Linked DNA regions of Homo sapiens: region 1 is linked to region 2. Evidence: promoter capture Hi-C in 16 types of primary human blood cells and fetal thymus (Javierre and others, 2016). All regions are on one chromosome and are shown on one strand. The core of a region is centred on a gene start or on the middle of the fragment in contact, and the rest is flanking DNA. Distances in the headings are between cores, read along the strand shown. Region 1 overlaps DNASE1L3 (deoxyribonuclease 1L3). Region 2 holds the start of KCTD6 (potassium channel tetramerization domain containing 6).

The links. The method cuts DNA at HindIII sites, captures the fragments that hold promoters and counts their contacts. A CHiCAGO score of 5 or more calls a contact.
Region 1: a fragment that was not itself captured here is called in contact with the fragment with the promoter of KCTD6 in region 2 in 1 of 17 cell types (naive B cells); the score reaches 6.9 in naive B cells.

Annotation. Positions count from the first base shown.
Region 1 is chr3:58,194,193-58,198,119 of GRCh38, reverse strand. It overlaps DNASE1L3 (deoxyribonuclease 1L3), which reads left to right. Exons shown (of 8, transcript NM_004944.4): 6 at 142-299. Among named protein-coding and RNA genes, the nearest start is that of DNASE1L3, 15 kb to the left of the region's middle. RefSeq lists an enhancer at 1,371-1,550. The HindIII fragment of the contact is 1,894 bases long and covers 1,236-3,129 here.
Region 2 is chr3:58,490,526-58,494,566 of GRCh38, reverse strand. KCTD6 (potassium channel tetramerization domain containing 6) reads right to left here and starts at 2,471. Exons shown (of 3, transcript NM_001128214.2): 1 at 2,398-2,471. RefSeq lists a silencer at 2,171-2,820. The HindIII fragment of the contact is 5,155 bases long and covers 1,944-4,041 here.

The DNA.
Region 1 (3,927 bases), core at 933-3,432, 300 kb after region 2:
GAGCAGGGGGTAGACAAGATTCAGCCCATAACAGACCCTGTTGTTTACTGGGCCTGGGACGCAGAGTCTTTGCTAGAGTCCAGTGTGAAAGCATTCTGCAGCAGCACCCACCAGGTGACAGTTCCAAATCTTGTCTTTTAGAATTTCATTTTCATGGGTGACTTCAATGCCGGCTGCAGCTACGTCCCCAAGAAGGCCTGGAAGAACATCCGCTTGAGGACTGACCCCAGGTTTGTTTGGCTGATCGGGGACCAAGAGGACACCACGGTGAAGAAGAGCACCAACTGTGCATATGACAGGTAGGAGGCCCTGCAGGGTGCTGCTGGCTCACCACAGTGCTTGGTGTGCACTAGGAAAGACGCAAGGTGGCTGGGCACTGTGGCTCACGCCAGTAGTCCTAGCACTTTGGGAGGCCTCGATGGATGGATCGCTTGAGTACAGGAGTTTGAGACCAGCCTGGGCAACATGATGAAACCCCGTCTCTACAAAAAATACAAAAATTAGCCAGGCATGGTGGCACACACCTATACTCCCAGCTACTCAGGAGGCTGAGGTGGGAGGATCGCTTGAGCCCAGAAGGTGGAGGCTGCAGTGAGCCAGGATCGCACCACTGCACTCCAGCCTGGGTAACAGAGTGAGACTTTGTCTCAAAAATAAAAAATAAAAATAAAAATAAGAAAAGCACACTGCTTGCAGAGCTGAGTCAATTAAATGTCAGGCCCCTCTACTGGGTACCACATGTAGCGTATGAACCACAGGACCCTATGCGGTGGCCCTGGGCACTGTAGCTTAGCAGAGGTAAGCACTGGCTTCGCTATCAGATAGGCCTGGATTTAAATCCTGACATTATCACTTCATATGTCTGTGACCAAGAGACAAGCTCTCTGTGTCTTTCATTTCCTCCCCTGTAAAATGGAAGTTATCCTAGTGCCTCACTCATGAAGATCCGATGTGGAGTAAATGAAATAACATGTCAGGCTGCTAGCACAATGCCTGGCATACGGCAAGTGCTCATTACATTCATGGGCTGATCATTGTTCCATCACAAAGACTTACCGCAATTGATGCGCCCAATCCCCATCATTAGGCATTGGGTTATTACCAAGGGTTTGCTGTTATAAATACTGCTAAAATCAATATCCTCTGTGCATTTTGTGCAAGTATTTATGATTTCCTCAGGAAGCAACCCTAAAAATGAGACCAATTAGTGCAACGGTATTTATATTTTTAAAGCTTTAGCTACATATTCCTAAATGCAATGCATACATTTAAGTCCTAGCATTCCCTCGTGCTTTTTAAAGTCCCTTCAGGGATTTTCAAACAGCTTTCATCTTTGCTCCTTCAATGGGGACAGAGGGGGGAGTGCCTGAGGCGTGTGAATGTTAGTGATCTTCCATCACAGAGACCACAGGTGGGGAAACCCCTAGGAGCCTGGTCCCAGGTGGTGGCCACAGTTCCCAGAGCTCAGCCTGCCACGAGGAAGTGTGAGATGGCCATCTGCATGAGAGCCACCAGGCCACTCGTTTTCACTTCCTCTCGGAGTTTTTTTTTTTTTTTTTTTTTTTTTTAGACAGAGTCTCGCTCTGTTGCCCAGGCTGGAGTGCAGTGGTGCGATCTCGGCTCACTGCAAGCTCCGCCTCCCGGGTTCACGCCATTCTCCTGCCTCAGCCTCCCGAGTAGCTGGGACTACAGGCGCCCGCCACCACGCCTGGCTAATTTTTTTTTTTTTTTGTATTTTTAGTAGAGACAGGGTTTCACCATGTTACCCAGGATGGTCTTGATTTCTTGACCTCGTGATCCGCCCGCCTCGGCCTCCCAAAGTGCTGGGATTACAGGCGTGAGCCACCATGCCCGGCCTGTTCCTCTTGGAGCTTTTGAGGCTGGTGTTTCCTTTGCAGAAGTTATCACTCTGCAAAGTGGGAACCCAAGGCGGGGAGTTACAGGGGTCTAAGTGCCCAGACCCCCTATTTTGAAGGACTTCCAGCAAAGCCTGGACGATGGCCACTCACTCAGTTACACATGGCAGTTGTGTGCCCGTGGGTAGGTCAAGTCCCTTCTCCAGCGCCATTCTTCTCCCCTGGCAAATGAGTGGGAAGTGATTGAAAATGATACAGAAGAATCAGAAGGCAACATGGCCACAGTAGATCAGGTCAGGGGTAGAACAGGTTAGAAAAAGATGTTTACTAAAAGGATCCTGATTTTATACACATGTATCCCAAAGGATGGTGGGATTACATGTGACATTTTAAAGATTCATTTCTTATTTTGATGCTCTGAATTTTGTTTCTCATAACAACATGTATAACTCTTGTGCCTCTTTTTTTTCTTTTTTTTGAGACAGAGTCCTGCTCTGTCGCCCAGGCTGGAGTGCAGTGGCAGGATCTTGGCTCACTGCAACCTCCGCCTCCCGGGTTCAAGCGATTTTCCTGCCTCAGCCTCCCAAGTAGCTGGGATTACAGGCATACACAAACATGCCCCGCTTTTTTTTTTTTTTTTTTTTTTTTTTGTAATTTTAGTAGAGATGGGGTTTCGCCATGTTGGCCAGGCTGGTCTTGAACTCGTGACCTCAGGTGATCCGCCTGCTTTGGCCTCCCAAAGTGCTTGGATTACAGGTGTGAGCCACCATGCCCGGCCTCTTGTGGCTTTTAAAAAGTCATAGGCCAGTTGTGGTGGCATATGCTGTAATCCCAGCTACTTGGGAGGCTGAGGCAGGAGGATCACTTGAGCCCAGGAGTTCAAGGCTTTAGAGCAACATGATCACATGCCTGTGAATAGCCACGGCACTCCAGCCTGGACAACATAGTGAGACCTGTCTCAATACAATAAAATAAAAAGTAAAATTAAATAAAATAAACGGAGAAAATGAAAAGCCATAAAAATGATGTTTTAAAAATGTAATTAGACAAGATGGTCTCAGTTCCAGTCTTTGTTCCATGTTCACATATTTATCAAACACCTCTCATGTGCTGAGTGCTGGGGGAACATGCAAAGATGCCCAGGATCTGGCTGGTGCCCTGGACTGAAAACGTCACATGAACACTGGCCTGGTCCTGCACATCCCTAGAAGAAGTCAGAAATGGAAGAGCCTTTAACATGTCATTCTTTGCTTTCTGAGTCTTAAAGAAAGCTTTCACAAATGTCTAACTTGATGCGAAGAATTTACATTTGGGTTGAATTAAAAGCCGTAGCCCGGGCCGGGCGTGGTGGCTCACACCTGTAATCCCAGCACTTTGGGAGGCTGCGGCCGGTGGATCACGAGGTCAGGAGATCGAGACCATCCTGGCTAACACAGTGAAACCCCGTCTCTACTAAAAAATACAAAAAAAATTAGCCAGGCGTGGTGCCGGGCACCTGTAGTCCCAGCTACTCGGGAGGCTGAGGCAGGAGAATGGCATGAACCCAGGAGGCAGAGCTTGCAGTGAGCCGAGATTGCGCCACTGCACTCTAGCCTGGGTGACACAGAGAGACTCCGTCTCAAAAAAAGAAAAAAAAAAGCCGTAGCCCTGGAGCGGTGGCTTACACCGGTAATCCCAGCACTTTGGGAGGTTGAGGTGGGCGGATCACCTAAGGTCACGAGTTCAAGACCAGCCTGGCCAACAGGGATAAACCCCGTCTCTACTAAAAATACAAAAATTAGCCAGGCGTGGTGGCACACACCTATAATTCCAGCTACTTGGGAGGCTGAGGCAGGAGAATCGCTTCAACCCGGAAGGTGGAGGTTGCAGTGAGCTGAGATGGCGCACTGCACTCCAACCTGGGTGACAGAGCATGACTGTGTCTCAAAAAAAAAAAAAAAAAAAAAAAAGTTAGTTGTGCTGGTGATGTTAGCAAATGCAGATACCAAAACTGTTGATTAGAATGGGGAAGGCCCACTGGTCACTCATGAAATGGCAGTTTGACTCACCTTGCCATTCCTCGGGAAGTCAC
Region 2 (4,041 bases), core at 1,222-3,721:
ACCTATATGTTGCAATAAAAACCTCCAACGAATAATAAAAAACTCCAACTACTGACTTCCCAGAGTTTCCAGGCAGCCCTTTAAAAATGCTTTTTTACTGAAACCTTCGTGTCTGGTAGTCAGAAAAGACTCAATAAACTCCCTCTTTCTATACTTACCTTCAAAATTGCCTTGTATTGAGTTTTGCTCTTCTTGAAATGTGGGAGTTTGAAAGCGAAATACTTTTTATAGTAACTAGTTCAGCGACATCTAAAGGAGTCTTTGGGGTTAACATTCACATACAGGCCAGCATAAGTAGCCAGGCATACAAGGATAATGTGATTATGGTTAGATTATCCTTAACCATACCACTGCAGAAATGGATTTTTCTCTACAAGTAATCATTTTCTCTTTCTCCTTTCTCAACCATGTGGTCTAGAAGAGAGAAGCTATAGGTTTAAAAGTGACCTAATATTAAAAAGCTGTCACAAATAGTCACAAAATCATAACATTCCTCTTAACCCTCAGTTTCCGCAAGATAAAACGGGATAATACCACCTTCCCAAAACGGGGTAATTACACCATTTAGGCACAACACAAAGGCAAAAATTGGCCTATAAGAGTAACACATCAGGACAAGGAAAGAGAACAGGTTCCCAGGGAGGTCCTGTAGTTGAATTCTGCTCCGTTACTGATTATGAGACCCTGAGAAAATCACTCTTTATGCCCAGCTTCTTCTTTGGGGAAATGGAGAAAATAAGGGAGATCATGAATATAAAACCATCTGTAAACTAGCAAGTATTAGACAAATGTGAAAACATTAGTGGCAGCAGCATAAACAAAATTTCTAGGTTAACATGAGAAACTTGAGTGTGAACACAAGTAATTTAGAGCATTGGCCTGGAGACGGCAAATATGGAGGAGGCAGCCTCTTAATTTGCTTCAAATCTCCCCAGGTCCTCCTTTTCCCAGAGCTCCAGAAGGGAGAACTATATACAGGTAAAGGGGAGTGTCTAGTTTTCCCAGAGTTCACCAAACACCTGAGCTCCTGATCTCAGAAGGAACTTCTTTAAAGCATGACTCGGGATTATCTCCAAGTTAAAGCTGAATCCAAATACATACAGGTACTCCATTTTAAATGGACCCCAAATATCAAAATCCAAGCGCACTGAAGGATTCATAGGGTTCACCCTAAGATTCCTTTAAGTAGTAATGCTTTGGTTAAAATATGATTTATGAAAATTCAAATCACAAAACTTTGGAATGGCATCCATGGCTATCCTGACCACTCCATCGTTCATATCTAAGGCATAGCACAAAATCAAGTATCAGTATGGACTGATGGTTTCGGCCAAAGAGAAAATACTCTCAACCTACCAACCCTGCTGACAAACACATTTTCCTTTTCCTAGCTACATATTCGTTCATTTGAAAACATCTCAATCTTGGGCTCAGGACTGTGCTACATGCTGTCCCCAAGCTTCTCTCCTATCCCAGGATGATTCAAGTAATAGGGCATTTGTGACAGCGAAAAAAAGAACATGCCAGGGGGATATAGAAGAGATACTTAGGCTACCCCAAATATTCTTAGCCGAGCCGGGTCATCCCAGGTCACTTTGCCACCCAAACCTCTTCTATCACAAAGTCCTAAAATTGGATCCATCAACTTGTTCTAGAACTGGTATACTTGAACAGAAACATGGTAACTTCGGCAGAATATCCAAACAGGATCTCTGTCACGTTTCATTTCCCCGTCCCACCCCCAGACACAGCCTCCACCACTGTCAGCCCAGCAGGTGCTGCCAGGGCTCCCCATTACCATGGCCATTTATCACCTCTGACATCAAGCATTAAAAACGCCACCACACACACACAAATCTAGGCATAAAGAACTCAGCTGCGATCTGAGAGTCTCTTCAGGGCAGAAAATCCCAAAGGCAGGGTTTTGAGTCCTGCCTCAAGCTTTAAACTAGGGCAATTGGTGGCTAATAAGCGCCATCTCCCAAAAACAATCATTTTCGAGCACACCCCAAATATCTCCGTCCGGGCCGCCCTTCGCTGCTGCCCCGCCAGCGAAGCCCCCGCAACCCGACCCGGCCAGGGGTAGGGCGGGCGATGCTCCGGGCCCGGACGAGGGGCGCGCCGCGGGGCTCCGAACCCGGGCCCGCAGAAACCGCGCATCCCCGCCGGGCGGGCCCCGGAACCCCCGCCCAGGCCCCGCCGCGGGCACCTCCGCTGCTGGCTCGTGCCAGCCCGGGACGCGCGGTCCCCTCAACGCGGCCCCGCCGCCGCCCCGTTCCAGGAGCCCCCGCCCAGATCCTCCTCAGCCCCGCTCCCCTGGCCGCTCGGCGCAGACGTCTCCTGAAACCCGGCCCTCCCAAACCCCGGCCCCGCAAGCCCCGCGCCAGCCCCACTCACTGCGCGGCGGCGGCGGCTGCTGCGGCCGGGCCGGGAGATGCCCGCGGCCGGAGAGCGCGAGCGCGGGGACAAGCGAGCCCGCGCCCGGCGACGGCGGCGGCGGCGGCGGCAGAGGGGACGACTGAGCCCGCGCCCGGAGTTGCGGCTCCAGCTGCCCGGCGCGGGCGGCGCCTTCCCAGCAGAGCCGCGGCGCCACGAGCGCGGGCGCCCCCTAACGGCAGCGCGGGCTGGAAGCCAGAGAGCGGGCGGCCTGAGGAACTCAGCCAGCGCAGTCGGAGCCGCGCGGTCAAGACCACACGACCGCAGCCCCGAAGCCCCGCCCCGAAGCCCCAGTCCCGCCCCTTAGGCTCCGCTCCGAAGCCCCGAAACCCCGCCCCTACGTCCCGCCTCCGCCCGCAGCCTGGGGTCCGCCCAACCCCAGGCCCACTGCGTCCTCAGGGGTGGTGCCTCCACAGCTGTTTCTCCTTAGTCATTTCACGAACTTGTATGGGCCCCCCACTATATCTCAGGCCTGGGGGTTTAGGAGATACAGCGGCCACCAAGACGGAGGCGGGTCCTAATCAAAGGAGAAGACAGACAAGACTCAAGGAAACAGCTAATAGACAAAATAATGACAAGTTATGGCCGTAAGTGTTGGGAGGGACATGATTAGAGGACTTAGATGGAGAAGAAGGGAAGGGAGCCCCTGCTCCAAACGCAGTGGCCGAGGAAGACCTGGACCCCGACCTGCGGCCAGAGCTCCTCCTGCCTGCCCTGCATTGGGGAGACAACCCTGCGATGAGGCCTGTGAAGAAGCCCCCGGGGCCACCGGGGCAAGACGGTCTGGTCCGGCCTGACGGGCAAGACAGCAAAGGGCTGCTGGGCCCAGAAGCTCAGCAACACGGGCAGCCAGGTGGAGAGAAGGGCAGAGCTACCTTCAGCAGACAAAACGACCCATGCAAAGGCTCTGGGGCCTGGAGGAGCTCGACCCTAGATGAGACTGGCGCTGGTATTGTCCCCACTTCACCAGGAAGGAAGCCAAGGCTGCAGAGGATGGGCAGCACCTAACGCCTCAGGGCTAATTGGTCTCCATCCGTCCACTCGTTCCAAGTCCATTCACTTCCTGCTAGCCAGGCCACTGTCCCCTTCCGGTGGGACCAGTTACCTGATGCTGGGTTTAACCTTCTCCACCAGAATAACCACTGGCCTTAGAAACTCACTTGGGTTTCACGTCTGCATGTGTGTGAGCTAGCTCTGGGGTTGAAATTGTATCAGCATGATCATCACAGTTATATCTGATACTTGATTTGTCTCCAAAAGCTCAAATTGATAGGTTAAATAAATGACATATGCTTCATCAACATAACTGAGTGCTACATTATCAAATTCACAAAGACTAGGTGAGAATACAGGGAAATGTGTGTGAAAATGATCAATACACAAACTAGTACACATGATATCCTGATTTTATTTTTAAAAACATAAATATATACAGACAAAAATTTTGAAGGAAATACATCAAACCATTGACCATCGTGTTCAAGATAACAGTATGGGAATGTTAATGGCATTACTTCATAACGTTCTTCTGAATTTTCATGAATATTGAATTTATAATCAGAACACATAAATATTGAATTTATAATCAGAAAAATACAATGAGTT